5 separate regions of the Homo sapiens genome follow, and regions 2, 3, 4 and 5 are each linked to region 1. Evidence: promoter capture Hi-C in 16 types of primary human blood cells and fetal thymus (Javierre and others, 2016). All regions are on one chromosome and are shown on one strand. The core of a region is centred on a gene start or on the middle of the fragment in contact, and the rest is flanking DNA. Distances in the headings are between cores, read along the strand shown.

What was found. The method cuts DNA at HindIII sites, captures the fragments that hold promoters and counts their contacts. A CHiCAGO score of 5 or more calls a contact.
Region 2: a contact is called between a fragment that was not itself captured here and the fragment with the promoter of E2F3 in region 1, in 1 of 17 cell types (monocytes). The highest score is 11.9, in monocytes.
Region 3: a contact is called between a fragment that was not itself captured here and the fragment with the promoter of E2F3 in region 1, in 1 of 17 cell types (fetal thymus). The highest score is 8.3, in fetal thymus.
Region 4: a contact is called between a fragment that was not itself captured here and the fragment with the promoter of E2F3 in region 1, in 1 of 17 cell types (monocytes). The highest score is 7.4, in monocytes.
Region 5: a fragment that was not itself captured here is called in contact with the fragment with the promoter of E2F3 in region 1 in 1 of 17 cell types (fetal thymus); the score reaches 6.1 in fetal thymus.

What each region holds. Positions count from the first base shown.
Region 1 is chr6:20,400,525-20,403,368 of GRCh38, reverse strand. E2F3 (E2F transcription factor 3) reads right to left here and starts at 1,490. Exons shown (of 7, transcript NM_001949.5): 1 at 744-1,490. The coding sequence starts at 1,136. It overlaps LOC124901482, which reads left to right and starts at 597. Exons shown (of 3, transcript XM_047419652.1): 1 at 597-944; 2 at 989-1,100; 3 at 1,207-2,628. The coding sequence starts at 597. The coding sequence ends at 1,814. RefSeq lists silencers at 1-155, 356-825, 1,676-1,915 and an enhancer at 1,053-1,577. The HindIII fragment of the contact is 2,252 bases long and covers 421-2,672 here.
Region 2 is chr6:22,365,182-22,368,025 of GRCh38, reverse strand. It overlaps a transcript of LOC105374971 not described here. Among named protein-coding and RNA genes, the nearest start is that of PRL, 70 kb to the right of the region's middle. The HindIII fragment of the contact is 1,013 bases long and covers 851-1,863 here.
Region 3 is chr6:22,040,306-22,043,149 of GRCh38, reverse strand. All of the region lies in intron 7 of CASC15 (cancer susceptibility 15), which reads right to left. Among named protein-coding and RNA genes, the nearest start is that of NBAT1, 110 kb to the left of the region's middle. The HindIII fragment of the contact is 4,011 bases long and covers 1-2,844 here.
Region 4 is chr6:22,021,481-22,024,324 of GRCh38, reverse strand. The region is part of intron 7 of CASC15 (cancer susceptibility 15); the gene reads right to left. Among named protein-coding and RNA genes, the nearest start is that of NBAT1, 120 kb to the left of the region's middle. The HindIII fragment of the contact is 7,165 bases long and covers 1-2,844 here.
Region 5 is chr6:21,832,254-21,835,097 of GRCh38, reverse strand. All of the region lies in intron 4 of CASC15 (cancer susceptibility 15), which reads right to left. Among named protein-coding and RNA genes, the nearest start is that of CASC15, 170 kb to the right of the region's middle. The HindIII fragment of the contact is 3,336 bases long and covers 1-2,844 here.

The DNA of each region.
Region 1 (2,844 bases), core at 241-2,740:
GGAAGGCCTGGGCGCTTGGGCCACGCGGGCGCCGCCGCTGCCACTGCCAGGATGCGCCCAGGCCAGAGCGCCAGCCCGCGAGCCCCTCACCCCAGACAGCCCACGCCCCAGTCCGCACCCGGCTTCCAGCCCCACCTCCCCCACGCCCGACTCCCCTCCACCTCCCCCAGCCCCTTTGTTGCCGGGAGTTACAGATCCTAAAATGTGTCAAGCGCAGCCCCGCCGATCCCCTGCGCTCCGAGCACGCCGCAGGGACCCCCGGCCGCCAACGAGCCTCCAAGGCCGACTGGGGGCTAGCACCCCAACAGTCCCCCGGTTTCAACCCCTCAGAGCCCCCCACACCCCAGTTCACTACTCCCTCCCCCACCCCCTTCTCCATCCGGGGCGTGACCCCTTCCTACGCCCGAGAAAGAGGAAGCTTCGAGTTGGAGGGGAAGGGAGAGTGGGGGTAGGGAAAAGTGCAGGAAAAGAAGGGGGGGCCGCGAAAAGTTTTGGAGTGTTTGATGTGGTTCGCGCCAAGGCAATCCCCGCCGCCCCGCGCGCCTGGCCGAGCCCCCCGACCCTCCTGGCGCCGGGAAGAGCACTCAGGTCTAACAATGAACCCTCGTTGGAGGGGCAGCCCCCGAGGCCCACGATGCTCGGCCCAGTGCTCTCCCCGAGCGGCCCGCAGCGCGCCCACGACCCCGCGCGGTGCGAGCCCACCTCCCGCCGGGGCTGGGGACGGTGGGGAGGGAGGGTATTACCGGAGGGCCGCCGCCGCCGCCGCTGCCGCCGCGTCCCAGCGCTGGTGGCTGCTGCAGCAGCCCGGCTCTGCTGGAGGGTCCGTGCGGCGTGGTGTAGAGGAGGCTGCCGGCGGTCTGCTCCGCGCCGGGGGCACTGGGGAGGAGGGGGCCGGCGGCTACGGCGCCGCTTTGGAGGGAGGAGGAACAGGAGGTGGTGGAAGTGTTCGTGGTGAGGATCTGGATGTACGCGCCCGGGGCGGCGGCAGCGGCGGCGGCGGCGGCGAAGCCGGGGCTGGCTAGCAGTGCCCTTTTGTCCATGGAGGCTGCAGCGGCGGCGGCGACGACAGCCGCCCCCTCCCCACCCCCGGCGGTCACCAGGTACTGCTCCAGAGCGGGCTGGATTCCCTTTCTCATCTCTCGCTCCTGCTCTTTTTAGTGTTATGGTATATTAATGTATTGTTTTCAATTTCTTTATTATTTGCAGTCGGAGTTTCCAAGTCTCTCCTCCTTCTCTCCTCCCCGCCCGGCGCTTCCGAGCCCCCTCTCTCTCTTTTCTTTTTATTTTTCCGCACCGCACAGGCCCCGGGGGCCAAAAATAATCGGGGCTCTGGAGAGAGGAGGGTCCCGGCCGCACGGATATCGGGCCCCAAGCGGGGATGGAGGCGTCGGGGGCGGCCGATGCAACGGATTGCGAGGCGGCGGCGGCAGCCCGGGTGCTGCGGCCGGCAGCTGAAAAATGGCTCCAGGAAGCTGCTGCTGACAATGAATGAAGGGATACGGTTTACGCGCCAAGGTCCTCCCGCGAAACTCGGATTTCCCGCCGGCTTTTCAAACCATATTTGCATATCCCCGCCCCTCAACCCGCCGAGGACCGTTCCCACAGCCCATTGGGCCGCTACCTCCTTACTTCAGTCCCAATCATGGAGCAGGGCCGCGACTTGCTGGTTTCCATTGGCTGCCGTGCATCATGGTTACCGGGGCGACAGGGACCCTATTTGCATAGGCCTCCTTGATTGGCTGGCAGAAGAGCAGTTTTTAGGGGGTGGGGCAAAGAATTTCCTTCTCTCCCACGGAAGACCACGCCTGGCCTAGGCTCCGCCCCTGTCCCCGCCCGCCCGCCGGGCCGGCGCTACTGACCTGGGCAGGGACTCCGCGCCCCGCAGACTCAGTGTAGATCTAGTCTAGAGCCCAAGTTTCGCTTTTGGAAATTGTCAAGGTGACTAAGGGAACACTCTTTCCTTTGACCAGTCAGTGCAATAAACGAACAGCGCAGGAGATTTTTCCAGATACGTGCCAAAGGCAAGTTGGACCATGCGGACGATGTCTGGCAGGTGCAAAAGGAGCCCTTTAAATCGTGGGCTTCTCCCTTCCTGAAATCCAACCAATGACGCGGCGAGAGCTGATCCCGAGGCCGGGGCTGATAGACAGAAGCATGTGGGCAGACAGAATCGTGGGGGCAGAAGGTTCAGCAGACGCGATTGCGGGCACCAGTTAACATTCCAGATCATTCCCGGTACCTTCATTATTAGCCTGGATAGGGGTAAAGTACAAATTAACTCTTTTGTCTTACAACGGATATTGGTTTGAATCCAGCAGACATTCCCTCTGGCCCAGAAACACCCAGGGCAGTTAATCAGGGCTAACCTAGAACTGATCTACGGGTTTCTAATCCGCCAAGCAGTAATCCGAAAAAGTACACGCTTCCCACGATGACGTCGTGCCCCCAACGAACGCAGGCACGCCCAGGCATCAGCACTTTATATCTTCAGTTTTGTAGGAAGTTCTCTGACTGGAAGCAAACACAACGACTCAAACCTATCCCAAAGTATTTTTAAAATAGTGTCTTTTTTTAAAAAGTAAACTAGAAATTGTCATCAGAAAAATATAAAATGATGTGTCAAACTGACTCCTGAATTTGTTCAAGTATTCATGGGTCTTAAAATTAAAGCTTGCTCCTGAGATTGAGCAGGAAAAGAGACCCCTGCAGGAATGTGGGGGAAGTTATGTATGTAGAGACTAGATCATAATTTATAGTTACGTGCAAAACAGCTGCAGAATTGGTGCTCATAGGTGATGAGGATTGCAACACCTTGAGCCCTTTCACAAGATTTTTATTACTATT
Region 2 (2,844 bases), core at 108-2,607, 2.0 Mb before region 1:
TTTTTAACTTTTCCCAACCTCATACTAGCCAAGTCATGCAGATGAAGAAGTGATGTGGGAAGTAATTAAGTGCTATTAGAAGCAAACGGCATCTAATTTGACCGAATGGCCAAGTGCGGTGTGGTCTTTTGATAGCATTTCCAAATACAGGAACCAAATTTGATCCTTTAAGTCCTCCTTGTCTTTAGGATGCATGTTTATTCAAAGAACAGATGGGGAGAAAAATCAGAAAAAGACTTTGTTCGACCCACATAAAACAGCATATTTGAGTGTGGGCATGAAGGGAGATGAGTTTTGGAAGGATTTTCATTTGTTTGATGTGTGAAGATAGAATTGGGAAGTGGGAAAGAGCGGACATTATTTAATCTCTCCCAGGGAGGAGCTTCAGAAGGTTCTAAGAGAAAGAAAGCTCCCTTAGTAAGCACATATTTCTGTGCTCTCATATCTTTGGTATTTTCCATTATAATAAAAGAGAGATTTCCAGGACTAAAGTTACTGGGTACTACAGACAGGAAGAAATTTTAGAAATGGTTATAAACTACCACCCACAAATTAAGCTTTTTTAGGGTTTGGAATTTTTAATTCCAAGACAATTTTTAAATAAATTGTCTTTGGATGAGGTCATGCCTGTGTGTTATTATATGTACTCCTAGTCATTAAAGACCAAAATGGAAATCCAGAGAGCACTGCACTAAAAACAAGCTTAATGCTGACAGCATTTATGACCTACATGCCTAATCCCATAGGTCTCCAGGCTCACAAGAAAACTGTTTCTCTTGAGATGCCCAAGTTGTCATTGCATGTCAGGGAAACTCAGGTATAAACAGGTACTTAAAAATAAGGGTAAGCTTTGCTGGCTACTTAAAGCAAATTGAGCTTTTGAAACTGATGAGGTGTACCCCGTTGAAATGTTGGCATCAGTCTGGAGCCCAATGCAAACAAGAAACAACAAGGGGAAAGACAATGGAGGAGGAATCAGGAGGAATCATAATAGAAAGGAATTGCCTGCTGGTTGCTAACATTTCCATATGGACACAAGCAGCAAAATTACAAAAGATCAAAGAGCAATCCAAAGAAGAAGGGAGTGTTCAGTCTCATAATTGTGCATGTGTGTGAACATACAGCCTTCTGTAAGAATAACAGCAGAAACATGTTTTTGCAAGTGAGGTCCAATGTATGCCAGCTAATGGGGGTGCCTGGCTGAACCTCAGTATGCAAAAATCTACTCTACATTTGTTAAAGATGCTACTGATTAATGGTATCTCAAATCTGTAATAACAGTTAACAGATGCACAAGGGGGAAATGTCCTCAATACAAATGCTGTAGGCTTCCAAACCTCATTGTAATTATTCCATTTGTGGTCAAGTGCTAGCAACCCATTTTACAGCTAAAGCCTAAGGCAAAATAATTTTGCCCACCATGACATTGAGGGAGAAGTTGAGGCGCAAAGGGACAACTCATTCTCCAACTCTTTACGTGTCAGCACTACATATGAAGTTTCTCTTGTGTCTGTTTTAAACTAGATACAAGAAACAATTTCACAAGAAATTGTGAAACTGTGTCTTTCACAAGAAGCAATTTCAATCTTTGCACCCAGAGAATAGCTTCTCTATGTAATTCTAATCTGATGAAATCACTGATTTTCCTGTGTTAAGAGGTTAGTGAGTTCTATTTCACAACAGATAGGCTCACTCCACATTTGGTAAACTCTGCCCCAACTGCGAAATTTTAAACAAATTTAATTCTTGGTAAATGTATTATTAACTACTATTAATACATAAGAAAATAATAACGTAATGAAAAAATGTTTAATAGTAACATAATGAACATAAAAATAATATTAGGAAATGCAGAAAAAAGCTTGGTATATCTCAAAATACATAACTGTTCAAGAGCGCATTGGCCCAAATCACCAGTTTTTTCATTCATTAATTTCTGTTATGGTTTGAATGTGTTTTCCACAGTTAATGTGTTGGAAAGTTAATCCCCAGTGCAACAGTGTTGAGAGGTAGGACCTTTAAGAGGTGATTATGTCATGAGGACTCTGGATGAATGGATTCTTATCAGAAGCTTGCTATAAAAGCTGAATTTGGCCTACTCTTGCTCTCTCTCACCATGTCATGCTTTCTGCCATTTTATGACACAGCAAGAAGGCCCTTACCAGATGCAACCCCTCATTCTTGGACTTACCAACCTCTAGAGCCAATCAATCGCTTTACTTTATAAATTACCTAGTCTTAGGTGTTCTGTTACAGCAACAGAAAATGGACTGAGACAATTTCCTTGGGAAAGTAAACAGAATGGGCTTTGAAGGAGTCTCTCACTGAATTTAGAAAACAAAATGACGAAGACACAACTTTCAACACTTCATTATATTACTAGGTTTAATGGTTGCAATTACATATGGCTTTATAGACTCAAAAGTGCTTTGCAACCTTTAATTAGTCCATCTTCCCAAGTCCACCTCCATTTTTGGATGACAGCACTGAGATATATTGGTTATGATTTGCCCTCCAGTAGCCAAGTAAGTCAGAAGCCCAGTTCAGAGTAAAACCAAGTCTCCAAAACAGAACCAATGCATGGGCACTGGGATTCTGGCTCACCTCTCATTCTACAGCATAGCTGGAATTTTGTTTAAAATGTGAAAGCATGCAAACAATGTTTTATCACCAGATATAGGGAGGTTTTGTTGTTATTAATCAACTTTTTATTGTATTTTCCCTTCGGATATAACTGCAAGTCAAATATAAGTAAATACTTTTTCCTCTTGCTCTATCTTCTAACTTCCAGTTCTCTTACCCACTTGCCCTCATTTGGAACACAATTTTCACTTTTAGAAAGAT
Region 3 (2,844 bases), core at 207-2,706, 1.6 Mb before region 1:
TGCAGTAAAAAGAAGCAAGGAGGTGCACCTGGCCGGAGAGCAATCTCCAGGAAGCTAGATGAGCCATCCTGTGTGTGGGAATGAAAGGCAGACCAGAACAGAAAGCAGTGAGGTTGTGATTCCAAAATCCCAGCTCCCAAACCTGTGGCCAGAGCAGAGCCTGTAATTAAATGTGAACTTGCCAGTGGCTCTCTTAATACATGAGGCAAAAAGTTAATGTCTGATGGACTGGGGCCCATGCCAAACTCCAGCTCAGTTGCCTCCCCACAGGGGACTAGTTCAAAGAAATGAGATCTAGTGGTAGTGAACAAGCCAAGTAAGTTGCAGGGAGGCCCCAGCTCACAGGTCTGCCTTTGGACCCCCTCCTCTGGGCTTCCCTAATACTCTATGCACAGCTCCTCCCCAGGTACTCACAGCCATCATTCATCCTTTATTGATCTGTCCTGTCCATGAAGCAAAGTGGAGGGCTGCCCTTTTCTGGACTTTACGTGCTTGGTACCAAATACACTAGGTCTGCACTGTCTAATACAGTGGTCACTAGACACATGTGGCTCTTGAGTCCTTGAAATGTGATCAGTCCAAACTGAGATGTATCTCAAGTTTAAAACAGTGGATTTCACAGACTTACTATGAAAAATACAGTTAAATAGCTCATTAATTTTTATATTAATTAAATATTGAAATAATATTTTGGATATATTAGGTTAAATAAAGTGTGTTATTAAAATCAATTTCACCTAATTCTCTTCATTTTTTTTTTTTTAGCATGGCTACACATGTGGCTTATATTATATGTCTATTAGACAGTATTGTTCTGGGTATTCCATGAGGGAGGGAGGGAGGAAGGAAGGAAGCAAGGAAGGAAGAAGGAGGGGGAAGGAGAGGGAGGGAGGAAGGGAGGGGGGCGGGCAGGTGGGCAGGCAAGAGAGAGAAAGAGAGTGGGGAGAGGGATGAAGAAGGAACACCAAGAGAAAGAGAAAGTTGACTGGAGATCAGTATAAATGCTTTTAAATCAACATATAACAGAAATGGTTTTAAAGAAGTGAGGTTATTTTCAGAAATAATTTTTGTATCTGGAACTACATTTCATTCTGAATCATTTGCTGTGAGAAAATGCTTACTAATCATCCAGGACTCCTAAAGGATGAGAGAGCAACAGACTGTCGGCCAGGCCACATCACAGAGGCCAAACTGAATCTTCAGTCCTGTGGTAAAGACTCGGGAGAGCAGAAGGGAATTGTCACTTGGAGATAAAACAATGAATCTGGAAACCCCACAGTTTTCCAAACTTCTCTTTATCCTAAATGTAACAATTCCCTCAGTTCAGCTGATTAAATATATTCTTTAAAACTGTTTTTAAAAATGCACAACCTTCCACCAAACATTTAAAGAAGTAAGCCAGGCGCAGTGGCTCACACCTATAATCCCAGCACTTTGGGAAACTGAGGCAGGTGGATCACCTGAGGTCAGGTGTTTAAGACCAGCCTGGCCAACATGATGAAACCCTGTCTCTACTAAAAAAAATACAAAAAATAGCTGGGCATGGTGGCACATGCCTGTAATCCCAGCTACTTGGGAGGCTGAGGCAGGAGAATCACTTGAACCTGAGAGGCAGAGGTTGCAATGAGCTGAGATTGCACCATTGCACTCCAGCCTGGACAACAAGAGTGAAACTCCGTCTCAAAAAATAAAAATAAAAATAAAGAATTAACACCAATCTTTCTCAAACTCTTTCAAAATACTGAAGAAGATAAAACACGTTTTGTTTGTTTGTTTGTTTTTTGAGACTGAGTCTTACTCTGTTGCCCAGGCTGGAGTACAGTGGCGCAATCTTGGCTCACTGCAGCTTCTGCCTCCTGGGTTCGAGTGATTCTCCTGCCTCAGTAGCTGGGACTACCAATACACACCACCATGCCCAGCTGATTTTTGTATTTTTAGTAGAGATGGGGTTTCACCATGTTGGCCAGGCTGGTCTTGAACTCCTGACCTCAGGTGATCCATCCACCTCAGCCTTCCAAAGTCCTGGGATTACAGGCATGAGCCACTGCACCCGGCTGATAAAACACTTTTTAATTCATTCTATGAGGCCAGTATTACCGTGATAGCAAAGCCAGAAAAAGAAAGAAAACTATAGACCAATATCCCTTATAAACACTGATGTAAAAACTGTCAACAAAATACTAGCCATCTGAGTTCAGCAGAATATTAAAAGAATTATACACCACAACCAAATGAGATTTAGTCCCGAAATGCAAGGATGGTTTAACATAGAAAAATTGATATAATATATAATGTTAACAGAATGAAAGACTAAAACCACATGATCATCTCAATGTGGTTGATTCAGAAAAAGGACTTGACAAAATTCAATACCCTTTCATGTTGAAAATACTCAACATACTAGAAAGAAATCTACCTCAATATAATAAAATCCATATATGAAAAAACCCATAGCCAACATCATAATGGTGAAAGACTAAAAGCATTTACTCTAAGATCAGAAATAAGGCAAGGATGCCTGCTTTCACCACTTCTATTCAACATGGTACAAGAAGCTCTAGCCAGAGCAATTAGGCAAGAAAACGAAATAAAGGCCATCCAAATTGGAAAGGAAAAATAAAACTATTTCTGTTTGCAAATGATCTGATCTTATCTCCGAAAGATCCCCCGATCCCGCACTCAAAAAATTGTTAGAGATAATAAATTCAATAAAGTAGCAGGATACAAAGCCAACATATAAAAGTAAGTTGCATTTATATATACTAACAATGAACAATCTGAAAAGGAAATTACAAAAATGGTTCCATTTATAATAGCATCAAAAACAATGAAATACTTAGGAAT
Region 4 (2,844 bases), core at 225-2,724, 1.6 Mb before region 1:
TTGAAAGACTAGGGAGACCTTTTCCACTCAGCCCTTGATTTGCTGTGGGGCCTACATCAAGTTGTGCTATGCCTCTGTTATAACGTCTGCAAAATGGAGATAACACTTCCTGCTACCTACCTCAGAGAGCTGTTAGAAGATTAGATACCGAAAAAGAAAATCCTCAAAGCCCTTTAAGTTTCTCATACATATAAGACATGCAATGTAATAAAACACCCGTACTCTCTACAAAAGCCCTGAGAGACTCACGGCTATAGAAATAGGAAACAGACGCCAGCTGTACAGCATGGATGCATTCACAATCAGGGAGGCTGGCTGCAGATTCCAGTGACAAGGCAGGGAAAATAACTCTGACATTCACATGTACTCAGACAAAACACCCAGGAAAAGGGAGGAAAATAGTATTGTTTCAGTAGAGCACCAGTAAGTGAAAAGAAGCAATCTTCACAGATAACATTCCTAATTCCTGCTTAAAAGTCTGGATCTACAAGAAGACAATCAAGTGACAACATTACACTGGTAGCCTTTAAGGTTTAGAAAAATCTCATATTAAAGTAAATTGGGCCAAGTAGAGTGGCTCACGCCTGTAATCCTAGCACTTTGGGAAGCTGAGATGGGAGGACCACTTGAGCCCAGTTTGAGACCAGCCTGGGCAACACAAGGATACCCCTATCTCTACAAACAATAACAATTTTAAAAATTAGCCAAGCATGGTGGCACACACCTGTGGTGCCAGCTACTCGGGAGGCTGAGGTGGGAGGATTGCTTGAGTGCAGGAGGTCAAGTCTGCAGTGAGCTGTGATCAAGCCACTGCACTCCAGCCTGGATGACAGAGCAAGCCTCTGTCTCAAAAATAAAATAAAATAAGTAAATTGGCTCTCTAGAGGGGTAAGGGTAATAACCCCCACACTGAACAAAATGTAAAGAAGAGAATGCATAAATTACAGTATTTTAAATTAATTTATACTGGAAACAAAAGCCATGCTTGACTGTACATAGCCATCTAAGGAAAATAATTACTCTTGGGTCCATAAGGAAATTGGGAGAAAAGTATTAAATGTTCATCTATTCTAAGATATTCTGAATTATGAAAAGTTTAAAATTCAAATTAATCAATTAATTAAACACATATTATTATTATATCAAGGATGTATTGTGAGTTCCATGTCAGGTTAAAATTAAAAAAGATGAATAATATCCTTTTCCTGGTTCTCATGAACCTCAAAGTCCAGCAAGGAGAGACAGAGACAAAATAAAGTATAACACAATGTGGGAAGGGTTTGAGTCAAGTATAAACAGAGTGCTAAGGAAGAACAGAGGGAAGATGTAATTGATTCTGTATGGAAAAGAGGAGGGGGAGGGGCTTAGGAAAGTCTCAGAGAATTTGACACTTAAACAAGACCTTGCAAAATGTACAATATTTCACCCAATATAGAGCAAGGGGAAGGGGCATTTTAGATAAATAAATGGCAGCCCACATCTCAAGGCATGTCTACATATGTCCGAGTTAAGTGTCACACAACGCAGACAGCCCGGAAGGGCCTGGATTGCAAGGTCTTTGTGAGGAAGGAGGCATCACAGGACGAGATTTTTGAAAAGAGACTTGGTATTTTCTACAACTCAATAAAAGAGAAGGAGGCAAGTGTACAGGAAGAGAAGCAGCAGGAACAGGAGGTAGCCCTGGCCCCTGGGCCTGAGACAGACCTTGGGGAAACCGACAGCATTGCTAAGGCCAGTTCTGTAGGTAGAGGTGAGGAAGACAAAGAGGCAGAGAAGCAGGAAGGCATAGTGCACTGAACCATGACTCAGAAATGGTCAAGAGTGGGACTTCCAGGAGAAGTAGCAGGCCCAACCTAGATGGACAGTGTAGTACACAGAATAATGGCCACCAATATATCAGGTCCTAATCTCTGGGACCTGTAAATGTTACCTTCTATGCAAAGACTTTGCAGATGTGATGAAATTAAAGATCTTGAGATGGGGGGATTATTTTGAATTATCTAGTTGGGCCTTAAATGTCATTACATGTATGCTTCTAAGAGGGAAGCAGAGGCAGATTTGACTACAGATGGAAGACAGGAAGGCAATGTGGCCGTGGAGGGGGCAGATATTGGAGTGATGAGGCCACAAGCCAAGGGATGTCAGCAGTTTCCAGAAGCTGGAAGAGAGAAGGAACAGATTCTCCCCCAGAGCCTCTGGCAGGAGCTCAGCCCTGTCAAAACCTAAATGTCTGTTGTTTTAAGGTGCCAAGTTTGTGGTAATTTGCTACAGCAGCCAGAGGAAATTAATACACACAGTGAACAAAGAGTCACCCCCAGCTGTTCTTAGATGCCACCATCACCAGTCTTGATAAGAATCATTCAGACCAAGGGCAGTGACTCACGCCTATAATCCCAGCACTTTGGGAGGCCAAGGTGGGAGGGTAGCTTGAGGCCAGGAGTTTGAGACCACCTTGGGCAGCAAAGCGAGACCTCATCTCAACAAAAAATAAAAATTAGCCAGGTATGGTGGTACACGCCTATAGTCCCAGCTACTTAGGAGGCTGAAGGAGGAGGACTGTTGGAGCCCAGGAGTTCCAGCCTGCAGTGAGCTATGATTTTACCACTGTGCTCCAGCCTGGGCAACAGAACAAGACCCCATCTTAAAAAAAAAAAAAAAAGAAGAAGAATTCAGATGGAAGGCACTCCAACTCTCAAGAATAAATTGAAGTCTAAGCTGCCACGTTAGAGGAAGACAAGATTATTAACCTTAGTAACTAGTCAAAATTTAGGAACAGAAACCCAGGTATAATCCTAGACTAGGTTAATACAAGGTGGCTGGAAGAACTATAAATAGAAGCCACCA
Region 5 (2,844 bases), core at 152-2,651, 1.4 Mb before region 1:
ATCTGTATATACCCAATCTCCACTGACAGGTATGACAGGAAACTAAATGTCAGCATGCCCAAACCAGAAACCACAGACTAGCCACCCACCCCAATGAAATCCCCAACTTGATAAATGATAACACCATTTACCTAGCAAAAACCATCCTTTGTTATCTTTAATCTAGCTTTATTCTCTTTTATTCTGCCAATGCTATCACTACATTGTATCATTTTACTTCATAATAACTTCTCTCACCCATGTCTACCACATACCATGCTGTATTTCATCAAAATTTTTCAACTAGAACATTACAATAGAAACTTCACCGGTTCTCAACTGTGAGTCTGAAGCTCCTTCCATCTACCATTGAAGTCCTATTAGAGTTTTGTTTTTTGGGGTTTGTTTGTTTTTTTGATACAGGGTCTCACTATGTCACCCAGGCTGGAGTGCAGTGGATCGATCTGGGCTCACTGCAATTTCTGCCTCCCAGGTTCCAGCAATTCTCCTGCCTCAGCCTCCCAAGTAGCTGGGATTATGGATGCGCACCACCACACCTGGCTAATCTTTGTATTTTTAGTAGAGACGGGGTTTCACTATGTTGGCCAGGCTGGTCTTGAACTCCTGACCTCAGGTGATCTACCTGTCCTGGCCTCCCAAAGTGCTGGGATTACAAGTGTAAGTCACCATGCCCAACCCAGAGTATTATTTTTAACCTTAAAACCTGTTTATATCCCTCCATTTCTCTAAATTCTTAAATTTAGAGAAATTCTATAGCAGTGCATTCTCAAATGTTAGAGGGATAAGAGTCCTGTGTAGGTTGGGGGCCAGGCATGGTGGCTCACACCTGTAATCCCAGCACTTTGGGAGGCCGAGGTGGGCAGATCACCTGAGGTCATGAGTTTGAGACCTGCCTAGCCAACATGGTGAAACCCCCTCTCTACTAAAAATACAAAAAATTAGCTGGGCGTAGTGGCGGGCACCTGTAATCCCAGCTACTTGGGAGGCTGAGGCAGGAGAATTGCTTGACCCGGGAGGCAGAGGCTGTAGTGAGCCGAGATCATGCAACTGCACTCCAGCCTGGGCAACAGAGCAAGACTCCGTCTCAAAAAAAAAAAAAAGAAAGAAAGAAAAAAAAAAAAGTCACGTGTAGGTTGGGGAGAGGGTGACATAAGATAGATTCAAGTCTCCCACAAGGAATTCAGTAGTTCTAAAATGGGCCCAGGACCCTGAAGTTTGAAAATGCTCACCAGGTGACTCTTATGTAGATAGTTTGAAGGGTATACTTCAAGGACTATAAAATACATAGCTCCTTTTAATAGTATACAAGGTACTTCGAGATCTAGGCAGGGGTTTTCAAGCCTATCAATCCCAAGTCCCTTTTTATAACACACTTTTCTGTCTTGAAATAAAAATCGTAAGTAGTATATAACCTACCTGCGTAATAATTTTTAAAAGTAAATCAGTATAATATCTTAAGTATAGAAGAAAAAGGGGGGAATGGAATTGATAATAACATAACTTTTGTTTTTACATATTGGCACAAAACTGCCAACAGAAGACACCATGAAGTAGCTGTGTGCATGGAATCACCGTGAATACAGCTCCAAACACAGATCCACACAGTATGTTTTATCGATCATTCAAATTTCCAAAGTGGTGTGGCCATGGCTGACACAATTTCTCTAAATTGTGAACAGTATTTAGTAAAGGTCCACATAAAACGATGCGCAATCTTTCCCCAACTGACAAAGTAGTTTTATTCCTGGAAAATTCAGTGTGCATTAAGCCTGGCAACAAATACTTTGTACCTATATGTAAAACAAAGTTAGGTTCTAGCTCAAACTCTTATAGACAGGTTCTGTAATTAACTTTACATAAATATCTGTTGAGACGCTTGAGAATAATCGTGTTAAACACAGGACAATTCTTCATGTGCAGAACTATCTTGTACATTGCATCGTACCTGCTGCCTGGGCTTTGCTCATTCAATGCCAGAAGCGCCTTCCAATCACTGTGACCAAAGAAAGTATTGCATGAGTTTCCAAAACACCCCCAGAGCGTACAACTTCATCTCCCAAACAATCTAGCATCCAGCCCAATCATATGAACAATTTTAGTTTTTTGTGTGTGTGTGTTTTTTTAAGACAGAGTCTCGCTCTGTCGCCCAGGCAGTGGTGCAATCTCGGCTCACTGCAACCTCCACCTCCTGGGTCCAAGTGATTCTCCTGCCTCAGCCTACTGAGTAGCTGGGATTACAGATGCGTGCCACCACGTCCGGCTAATTTTTGTATTTTTAGTAGAGACAGGGTTTCACTATGTTGGCCAGGCTGGTCTCGAACTCCTGACCTCAGGTGATCCGCCCGCCTCGGCCTCAAAAATTGCTGGGACTACAAGCGTGAGCCACCATGCCTGGCCTCCATTTTCACTTTAAAACCTTGCAAATGTGTATTGACTCTATAGTTCTTAGCCAAAATGGCATTTCCTGAATCCAGTTTCCCTTGACCCTCCCAGGCCACACACTGGGCTCCTTCCTCTTGCTCTCATGGTCTTGTATACACAGCACCATAGCAATACCATCACTGCCATCCCATGACTTGGCATGATGACACTCTTCCCTCCTTTGGGTCTTAGCATATGGCAAACAGTAGATAGGTTTAACAAGTATTTTTGAATAATTTATTTAATAAATTCCATCCCCATCCATCTTATCCTACCTCTTCTATCCTAGCAGGGGAGGGCAAGGCAAAAGACAATTAAGAGAAAGAGGAATGATCAATCCTGGTGTGTTCTTGTGGCTCCATGGACCCAGACAACACTGTCTTTTCCCGTTCTTCTATGAGTAACGATAGCTGTATTCCTTCC